Linked DNA regions of Homo sapiens: region 2 is linked to region 1. Evidence: promoter capture Hi-C in human tissues and cell types (Jung and others, 2019). All regions are on one chromosome and are shown on one strand. The core of a region is centred on a gene start or on the middle of the fragment in contact, and the rest is flanking DNA. Distances in the headings are between cores, read along the strand shown. Region 1 holds the start of REEP2 (receptor accessory protein 2). Region 2 overlaps KDM3B (lysine demethylase 3B).

The links. The method cuts DNA at HindIII sites, captures the fragments that hold promoters and counts their contacts. A contact is called where the count stands out against the background at its distance.
Region 2: a fragment that was not itself captured here is called in contact with the fragment with the promoter of REEP2 in region 1 in 1 of the 25 tissues and cell types used here (bladder).

What each region holds. Positions count from the first base shown.
Region 1 is chr5:138,436,396-138,440,702 of GRCh38, forward strand. REEP2 (receptor accessory protein 2) reads left to right here and starts at 2,662. Exons shown (of 8, transcript NM_001271803.2): 1 at 2,662-2,845. The coding sequence starts at 2,814. It overlaps KDM3B (lysine demethylase 3B), which reads left to right. Exons shown (of 24, transcript NM_016604.4): 24 at 1-632. RefSeq lists a silencer at 2,490-2,909 and an enhancer at 3,295-3,828. The HindIII fragment of the contact is 10,254 bases long and covers 1,990-4,307 here.
Region 2 is chr5:138,388,367-138,392,673 of GRCh38, forward strand. KDM3B (lysine demethylase 3B) reads left to right here. Exons shown (of 24, transcript NM_016604.4): 8 at 2,647-3,895. Among named protein-coding and RNA genes, the nearest start is that of KDM3B, 38 kb to the left of the region's middle. The HindIII fragment of the contact is 4,652 bases long and covers 1-4,152 here.

The DNA.
Region 1 (4,307 bases), core at 1,412-3,911:
GCACATTACATTTAGTCTTCCTTTCGATATAAAACTCTTTGAAGAAATATGATTTTTAGAAATCAGCTACCCATTATAGCACAAAATCAGCCAAAGCAGAATTTTTAAAAATTGGCTTTTTTAGGATTCTTTTTCTCCCCCTCCCATCTTAGTCTTACCTTGAGGGAACAGTCATATGAGAAGGAACTTTGTCACATCTAAGCTGTGGTGTGTTCCCCATGTGTGTGTACAACACTGGTGACTCCAGGAACCATTTTCACCTATTACCAGTGTTCCCTGGGGACTCCTCTTAATGTTTCCAAATGGGAAGGACAGTTGATTTCCAACATGAGGTTTTTTGTTTTTTATCCAGAAATATTTTCAGCAAAACTTTCCAACTGAGTGGAGTCTGATTAAGGATTTATTTGAAAATGGTGGGATTCATTGGCCCATAGGTACATTGGAAAATGTATATCTCTCCAGCTGTACTGTAGTGCCCTGCAGGCTGTTTATATGTTCACAGTTACTTTTTTTTTTTTTTTTAAATAAAAGTCATTTAATGTAGAATACTTTTAATTTCACTTTCTGTATTTTAATTTTGTTGAAGGGCTGATTGGGATTTCCATGTTCTTATTAAAAATCTAACAAATCTGTTTGGAGTGGACTAAATTATTCGTGTACCAACCCTTCTAAAATCAACATCAGATTGGGAGTTGGGTTGGAGGTGGGGGATTCATTTCCAGGTCTTCATGACTGTGCTACACCCAGATATTTTTCTTTGCTTGTTGAGACTGTGCCATGTTAGAAAAAAGGAAAGTGCCAGGGTGAGGTCAGTATGGTTTGGGGAATTGGGGGTAAGGGGAAGGGGCCACATGAATTAGAGGGTAGAAAGAGAGACATGTTTCCCCATACTTTATGCTTTGTGAATGGAGTGGGAAAGTTGGGGTCCTCCCTTCCTGTGGCAGAGTCTGGGGGGAAGGGTCATGGTGTGTGGCCTCAGCAAAGTTGGACAGTCTGTGGTGGGATTCTTAAGCAGGCAGCCTGGCTGCCTACATGAAACGTGTGGCCATAGATCCACCTTAGAGATGGTGGGAGACACTCATGTGGGATTTATCAAGCAGTAATTAAAGTGTTTCATTGTGGGGTGATAACAGACTGCATTCCAATTAGGAGATGTTTTCTGGAGAGGAAGTTGTAAAGAATAGCAAGAGGGGTTATCAGAGGCTGCTTTTCTGGAACGTTTTGGGAAACATCTTCCAAAGTGTTTGAACCTGGAAATATAATTTACCAGGTTAGAAATAGACCATTGTGTTGTTCAGGGATACTGAGCTTGAATAAGACCATGACTCTTTGAAATACACAGTTCTGAATGTGTCCTTTCAGCCCAGATGGGCACAGGTTGATGCTGTGGTCACCCGAAGGATTACAACTCAACATAAAGGGTAGAGGAATGCAGAAGCTCTAAAATGGGACAGGAAAGGAGAGCAATAGGGCTGGGGGTGTTGGTGGATGGTTGGAGGTTGGTTGCTTTCCTGAAGATCAGGAGGCAGGCTAGCCTACATTCTGGATATAAATGTCTTTAGAATCAGGACATTCACTGCCACTAGTGCTTGCTGATGGGGGTGGAACTGGAGCCCCAGGACCCTCTCGCAGCCCCTCTGTTTGAAAAGAAGGTTGACCCTTTGTTGTCAGTAACCACATTGAGAGCATAAAGCTCTGTTCCGCTGCAAAGCTTAGGAGCTGACAACCTAAAAAAGCAGACCAGCAGCCCGGTGGCTCACACCAGTGATCCCAGCACTTTGGGAGGCTGAGGCGGGTGGATCGCTTGAGCTCAGGAGTTGGAGATCAGCCTGGGCAATATTGCAAAACCCCATCTTGGCAAAAAAAAACAAAAAACAAAAAAACAGGAATTAGCTGGTGGTGTTTTGGGCCTGTAGTCCCAGCTACTCGGGAGGCTGAGGCGGGAGGATCATTCAAGCCCAGGAGGTGTGCTGAGATTGTGCCACTGCACTCCAGCCTGAGCGACAGAGTGAGGACCTGTCTCAAAAAAACAAAACATCATCTGGTCAGGGGAGATCCTCTTTCAACGGGGTGAGAAGGAGTGGGGTGGACAGGTGCGGCTGTACCTGTGACTCAGGAGCTCAGGTGGATGTCTTCAGGGCCTGTAATGAGGAGAGTTTGCTAGTCAGCAGTTGGGGGATGTAACCTGTTTAAAGTAGGCTTCCTGGGGTCATCTTAGCAGCATGACTTGGTGGCTTTGTGACTCTCAACAGATTATTGAGCCTTAAGCTTCTCATTCCCTTATCTTCAAAATGAGGGCTTTTATAGCGCCTGCCTTATAGGGTGGTCAAGAGGATTCACTGGCAACGCAGTGAAGCTCTTAGCACAGGGGCTGGCACACAGTAAGCGCCTGGTGTGGGCAGGGCAGGAGGTGGGCAGGGGTCGATTTCAGGATGTAACCATGGAGACCTCCACGACAACAGCCTAGGGCTTGAAACCCAAGAAAGATGAACAAGCGATTCGAGGAAGGCAGGGCACTGAGGGTCGGAGGCGCATGCCCGGCCACAGCAGGTGCCGGGGCGGGGGCGCGCCGCCGCCGCCGCGGCGGCCTCCCGGCCTCCCCTTTAAGAGCCGCCACCGCCCACGGCCCGCCGCTGCGGCAGGGACCTCCCCTTTAACGGCGGCGCTGGGCGCTCCGCTGCCCCCGCGGCGGCTGCTGCAGCGGCTGCTGCTGCTACTGCGGCTCCTGCTGCCGCCGCCGCCGCCGCTCGGCCTCAGGCAGCTGCATCCTCGGCCGGGCCGGGTCCCCGCCCCGCGCCGCGCCCGGCCCCGCCATGGTGTCCTGGATCATCTCTCGCCTGGTGGTGTGAGTGCGGCGGCGGCGGGGGGTGATGCGGGCTGTGATGGAGGGCGGGGGTGTTAAAGCCCGGGTGGACTTCTCCGAAGCTTCGTGCAGCAGAGTCACCTAAAGGCGCTGCGTCCTTATTTGGGGCCCCCAGAGACATGGAGATGTGGCACCCAGGACTGGAGGGGGGAATATTAGGGGAGCGTGGCAGGCCTGGCTTCCCAGGGACCTCACCCACATTCTTTATTAATAACCTCTTTTATTTCTACCGTCCTTGCTCCTGCGCCCATCCTAGAGGCTGAGCAGCACGGCTTGATTTAAAAGGGGAGGCAGGCGCGTCCCCTCCCCCACCTAGCAGGTCTGGGCTGGAGGAGATCCTCAGACCCGGGCCCTGTCCCTCTGGGGGAGGTAACAGGGTGATGGAAGAGAGTGGAGCAAGGCAGGGCCTCATCATCATTCCGCAGCTCAGAGCCATCACCAGGCCCCTTGGTCTCTCCCTTCCACTCACTGTCAGGAGACTGGGGACGAGGGCATATGCCCTTAGGCCCCCTAGGGAGGAAGTCTGGGTATCGGGAAGCAGAAATGCTCGGAGGACAAAGTGTGAGAGGTAACTGGGAGAGGGGATGTGTGTGCTCAGCCTGGGATTGTGGACCCCGCTGGGGGAGGACGCTCCGTGGCCTTCATTCCAGGCTGCCAGCCACACTGTGGAGCTGTGTCTCTGGCACCTCCCCGGGCCCCAGGAGGGAACACACACCATTCCCCACGAGCCCAGACTTTGTCCTTGAGGATTCTGCTCCGCACTCCACTTGCACCAGCCGGTTTGGAAGTATCCCTCCTGTCCATGTGGAAACAGGCGACAGCCACACATTGTCAAGGGGCTGAGCCTGACAGGGGCTCCTCGTGGTTCTCGGAGCTATCCCCTGCCCTAATGAGGACACTGCCCCTCGGCCTCCACCGTTGGGGACTGACACCGGCAGCCCCACCCTGCTCCCTTCTTCCCATTCGGTACAGCCGGGCCGGCCAAGTGCTTCTGTCCTGGTTTACTCTAGACTCCTTCTCTTCCCCCACCCATCCCAGGGGGAATGGAGGGGCCTCACGCCTCCATGTGGCCTTCAGGGTGGCTGCTTCTCTCTTGCCTGGGCAAGCCCCAAAGGGCATCGGTCCTCTTCTTTCCCGGCCTGTGTCTTGTCTGCATTCTGTACTTGGATCACCAGCGGGGCCCTCCCCTGAGCCCTGTCCCTGTGGTGTTTACATGGGGGAATAAGCCTCTTTGCCTCTCTCAGGGCCTCCTGCCCCTGTGCCCTCTGTTCCCTAGGGCCCCAGGGCCACAGTGGTACCTCTGCCTGCCAGGTAGGGTGCCCTGTTAGGTGGTGTCAGGTTCCCTCGCAGAGCCTGGCTCTGAGGGAGGTGGAGGGTAAGGGCAGATGGGTGTGAATGGGCATGAGGTCAAGAAGGAAGACACCCTGTGGCAGTGACCTGACTC
Region 2 (4,307 bases), core at 577-3,076, 49 kb before region 1:
TCATGCCTGTAATCCTAGCACTTTGGGAGGCCGAGGCGGGCGGATCACGAGGTCAGGAGATCGAGACCATCCTGGCTAACACGGTGAAACCCCGTCTCTACTAAAAATACAAAAAATTAGCTGGGCGTGGTGGCAAGCGCCTGTAGTCTCAGCTACTCGGGAGGCTGAGGCAGGAGAATGGCGTGAACCCGGGAGGCAGAGCTTGCAGTGAGCCAAGAGAGCCAAGATTGTGCCACTGCACTCCAGCCTGGGCAACAGAGCGAGACTCCGTCTTTAAAAAAAAAAAAAAAAAAAAAAAGGCTGGGCTTGGTGGCATGTGTCTGTAATCCTAGCTACCCAGGAGGCTGAGGCAGGAGAATCACTTGAACCTGGGAGGCGGAGATTGCAGTGAGCCAAGATTGCGCCACTGCACTCCAGCTTGGGTGACAGAGCGAGACTCCGTCTCAAAAAATAAATAAATAAATGTGTAGAAATGAATGTTTTCATTACAATGGCTGATCTAAAATAAAGACAGAGCCAACAGGAAACTTCTTGCCCTAAAAACTGGCTTGACATGAGTTTCTCATCACCTTTTTATAAGAAAAGGATTTGGAATTTAATCATTTGAAGGAAAATGAAAGACTATCCAAATTATTTTTCATTCATGTGTGTATTTATTTTTAAAGGGTAACTTTAGGAGTGAAACATGAGCTACCCATGCTAGTTCCTTGCAGTCATGCAGGTATCAAGGCTCCTGGCCAAATCCTGCCTGTGAAGCAACAGCAGCACCTCAGGGCTGTGTCTGTTCTTTTTCTCTATTGTAGGGAGTAAGTTGAAGTCAATACTTACTGGTTAGTAGGAAGATAAAAGAAAAAAGAAAAGGAGTTTTATTTTTTAACTCTAAAATACCCTGAAGTAGTCTCTGTAGCAGAGACAGAGGCAAGCCTAGGTGGCCTGCTTGATTCGTACGTCTCTATGCTACTCCTCAAGGAAATCCTGAATGTTAACTCCTCTTGTGTATTTAAAGAATAGTTTAATTAAAACTCTCTCCCCTCTTTATAAGAGAATAGCCCTTTTGTTTATCGGGAATCACTTTTTTTTTAATTGTAGTAAAATACACATAATGTAAAACTTACGACTTTAAAATGTACAATTCTGTGGCATTTAGTACATTTACAGTGTTGCGAAACTATGAAGACTATCTAGATCCAGAAATTTCATCACCCCAAAAGGAAAACTCCATATCCATTAAGTGGTGATGGAATAATTTTTATTTCCAGTGTTTTAGAGTGAATATTAAGGTATATCATCCTCTACTACTTGAAAGTAATCTATGGTTAGCAAGTCAAGTACTAGGATCTGGGTTTTATTAAATTAATAAATATAAGTTTGGGCTCATACCTACCTATGGGTCTCTTCTCTCTCTCTCTCTCTCTCTGTGTGTGTGTGTGTGTGTGTGTGTGTGTGTCCCTTTCTCTTGTCTGTATCTGGGTACATTAATATATAGGAAAGTCCTTCCTTTTTTTTGTTTTTGTGAGGGAATCTTGCTCTGTTGCCAGGCTGGAGTGCAGTGGCACGATCTGGGCTCACTGCAACCTCCGCCTCCTGGGTTCAAGCAATTCTCCTGCCTCAGCCTTCCGAGTAGCTGGGACTACAGGCACGTGCCACCATGCCCGGCTCATTTTTTGTATTTTTAGTAGAGACAGGGTTTCACCGTGTTGGCCAGGATGGTCTTGACCTCCAGACCTCGTGATCCGCCCATGTCAGCCTCCCAAAGTACTGGGATTACAGGCATGAGCCACCGCGCCAGGCCCCATTCTTCTTTATACAGTCATTCACAAGCAGAAGTTAACATTTTGAAGGTAAAAGAAGGAAAGGGGAGTGTTCTGTTATTTCATTCTTCAGTTATGCTGAAGGCTTTTTTTGGGATATTGTCAGTATATACATTTATCCTCTTTGGATTCTTATTAGATTCTAATTATAACAAAGGTCTTGGTAAATAGCTTGCTTTCTTTAATTTAGCATCTTTACGTCTAACGTTAATTGAAGTAGATATTCAACTTGTAGGTTGACTTGAACCCATAAATAGATGCCGAAATCCAAAAGGGTCCATGTTGTGGACTTTCAGATTAATAAGGAAAACACTTTTCTTTAACGTGCAGTAGGCTTGTCCTAGGATTAAAGCCACTTTTTGTAAAATGGGCAATTTTACAGTAGCCTAAATAAATCAAAACTTTAACAATAGCTCCCAAGGTCATTGAGATATATTAATATTACAGGGGTCACTGTAAAAGCTGATGTCTATTCAGGAACCCTTTTCTCCAGTTCCTTAGAGGAGCTCTTCACTTCCAAATAGATACCAAAAAGCCTACAAGGCCTTCTAGCACTGTGACGACCAATTGGATAACAACCAAGGGAATTGCAGGATGAATGACATCCTGCTATCTCTGGTTCACCTTGCTAAAGATGCCCTCAGTGTAGTCTGTGGCAGATTTCTTCCCCACTGCTGGTGAACTCCAGTTACAAGAGCAGATCCATGGAATTGTAAAAGAGAAAAGTTGATGGACCCCCAAGAAATGTTGATCTGGTGATAGTGAGGTCCAAGAAAGAGATCATTAGATTGTCATGAGAAGCCAGCATCACTAATTCAGGCTATCTTCCTTTCAGAATTCAAGAAATTCTATTCTGGCCTCTTCTGGATTTGGAGCACCTCTCCCTAGTTCATCGCAACCTTTGACTTTTGGAAGTGGAAGGAGCCAGTCCAATGGTGTTCTAGCCACAGAGAACAAACCTTTGGGCTTCTCTTTTGGCTGTAGCTCTGCACAAGAGGCACAGAAAGACACTGATCTCTCCAAAAACTTGTTTTTTCAATGCATGTCCCAAACTTTACCTACCAGTAACTACTTCACTACTGTTTCAGAGAGTTTGGCTGATGATTCTTCTAGTCGGGACTCATTCAAACAAAGCCTTGAGAGCCTGAGCTCAGGCCTGTGTAAAGGCAGATCCGTTCTTGGAACAGACACTAAGCCAGGCTCTAAGGCTGGCAGCTCTGTGGACCGGAAAGTGCCTGCAGAGTCCATGCCCACCCTCACTCCAGCCTTCCCACGGAGCCTCCTAAATGCCCGTACCCCAGAGAATCATGAAAATCTATTTTTACAGCCCCCCAAATTGTCCCGAGAAGAGCCTTCTAATCCTTTCCTGGCATTTGTGGAGAAAGTTGAACACAGCCCTTTCAGTAGTTTTGCATCTCAGGCATCAGGTAGCTCCTCTTCTGCTACCACTGTCACCTCCAAGGTGGCACCCAGCTGGCCCGAGTCTCACTCCTCTGCAGATTCGGCATCTTTAGCAAAGAAGAAACCCCTCTTCATTACAACTGACTCCTCCAAGCTAGTATCTGGTGTTCTGGGCTCAGCTCTTACCAGTGGGGGCCCAAGCCTCTCTGCCATGGGGAATGGCCGCTCCAGCTCGCCCACCAGCAGCCTCACTCAGCCCATTGAGATGCCAACTCTCTCCTCTAGCCCCACAGAGGAGAGGCCAACTGTGGGGCCTGGGCAGCAGGACAATCCCCTCCTCAAAACCTTTAGTAACGTCTTTGGCAGGCACTCAGGCGGCTTTCTGTCCTCCCCGGCAGATTTTTCACAGGAGAACAAAGCTCCTTTTGAAGCTGTGAAAAGGTTCTCACTGGATGAACGAAGCTTGGCTTGCAGACAAGACTCGGACTCCAGCACCAACAGTGACCTGTCAGATTTGAGTGACTCTGAGGAGCAGCTGCAGGCTAAGACAGGCCTGAAGGGAATTCCAGAGCACCTGATGGGGAAGCTGGGCCCCAATGGGGAGCGCAGTGCTGAGCTGTTGCTGGGCAAAAGCAAAGGGAAGCAGGCCCCCAAGGGCCGGCCTCGGACTGCCCCCCTGAAAGGTGATCCTGCTGGGGCTATATTTGGGCTTTGCTCTGGCACTGGGCTCAAATGCCTGTCGTGTTCTTGTGCAGCAGAGGCACTCACTTTGATGGAGAGTTCTGTAATCTCATAGAATTACAGAGCCAAGAGGACCTGGCAGAGGCCCCTCGTCAGGCCTGGTTCAGGGCAGGATTGCATCTAAACCGGCACTGTAGGAGGAGTATCTGTCCCAAATAATGATAATCCCCCAAAGGAGGACTCTTGATCTTCCTTGGCGGTCAGTTATTTTTGGTCAGGAACTATTTCTTTGCATTTGTCTCATCCCTTTTTACTTCACTTTGGCCCATCCTCTTTACTTCAGAGGGGTTACTGGGAACTGGTATCCATTCCCACATAGCAGACATTTGTAGACTTGATGAAGCAGAGAGAATC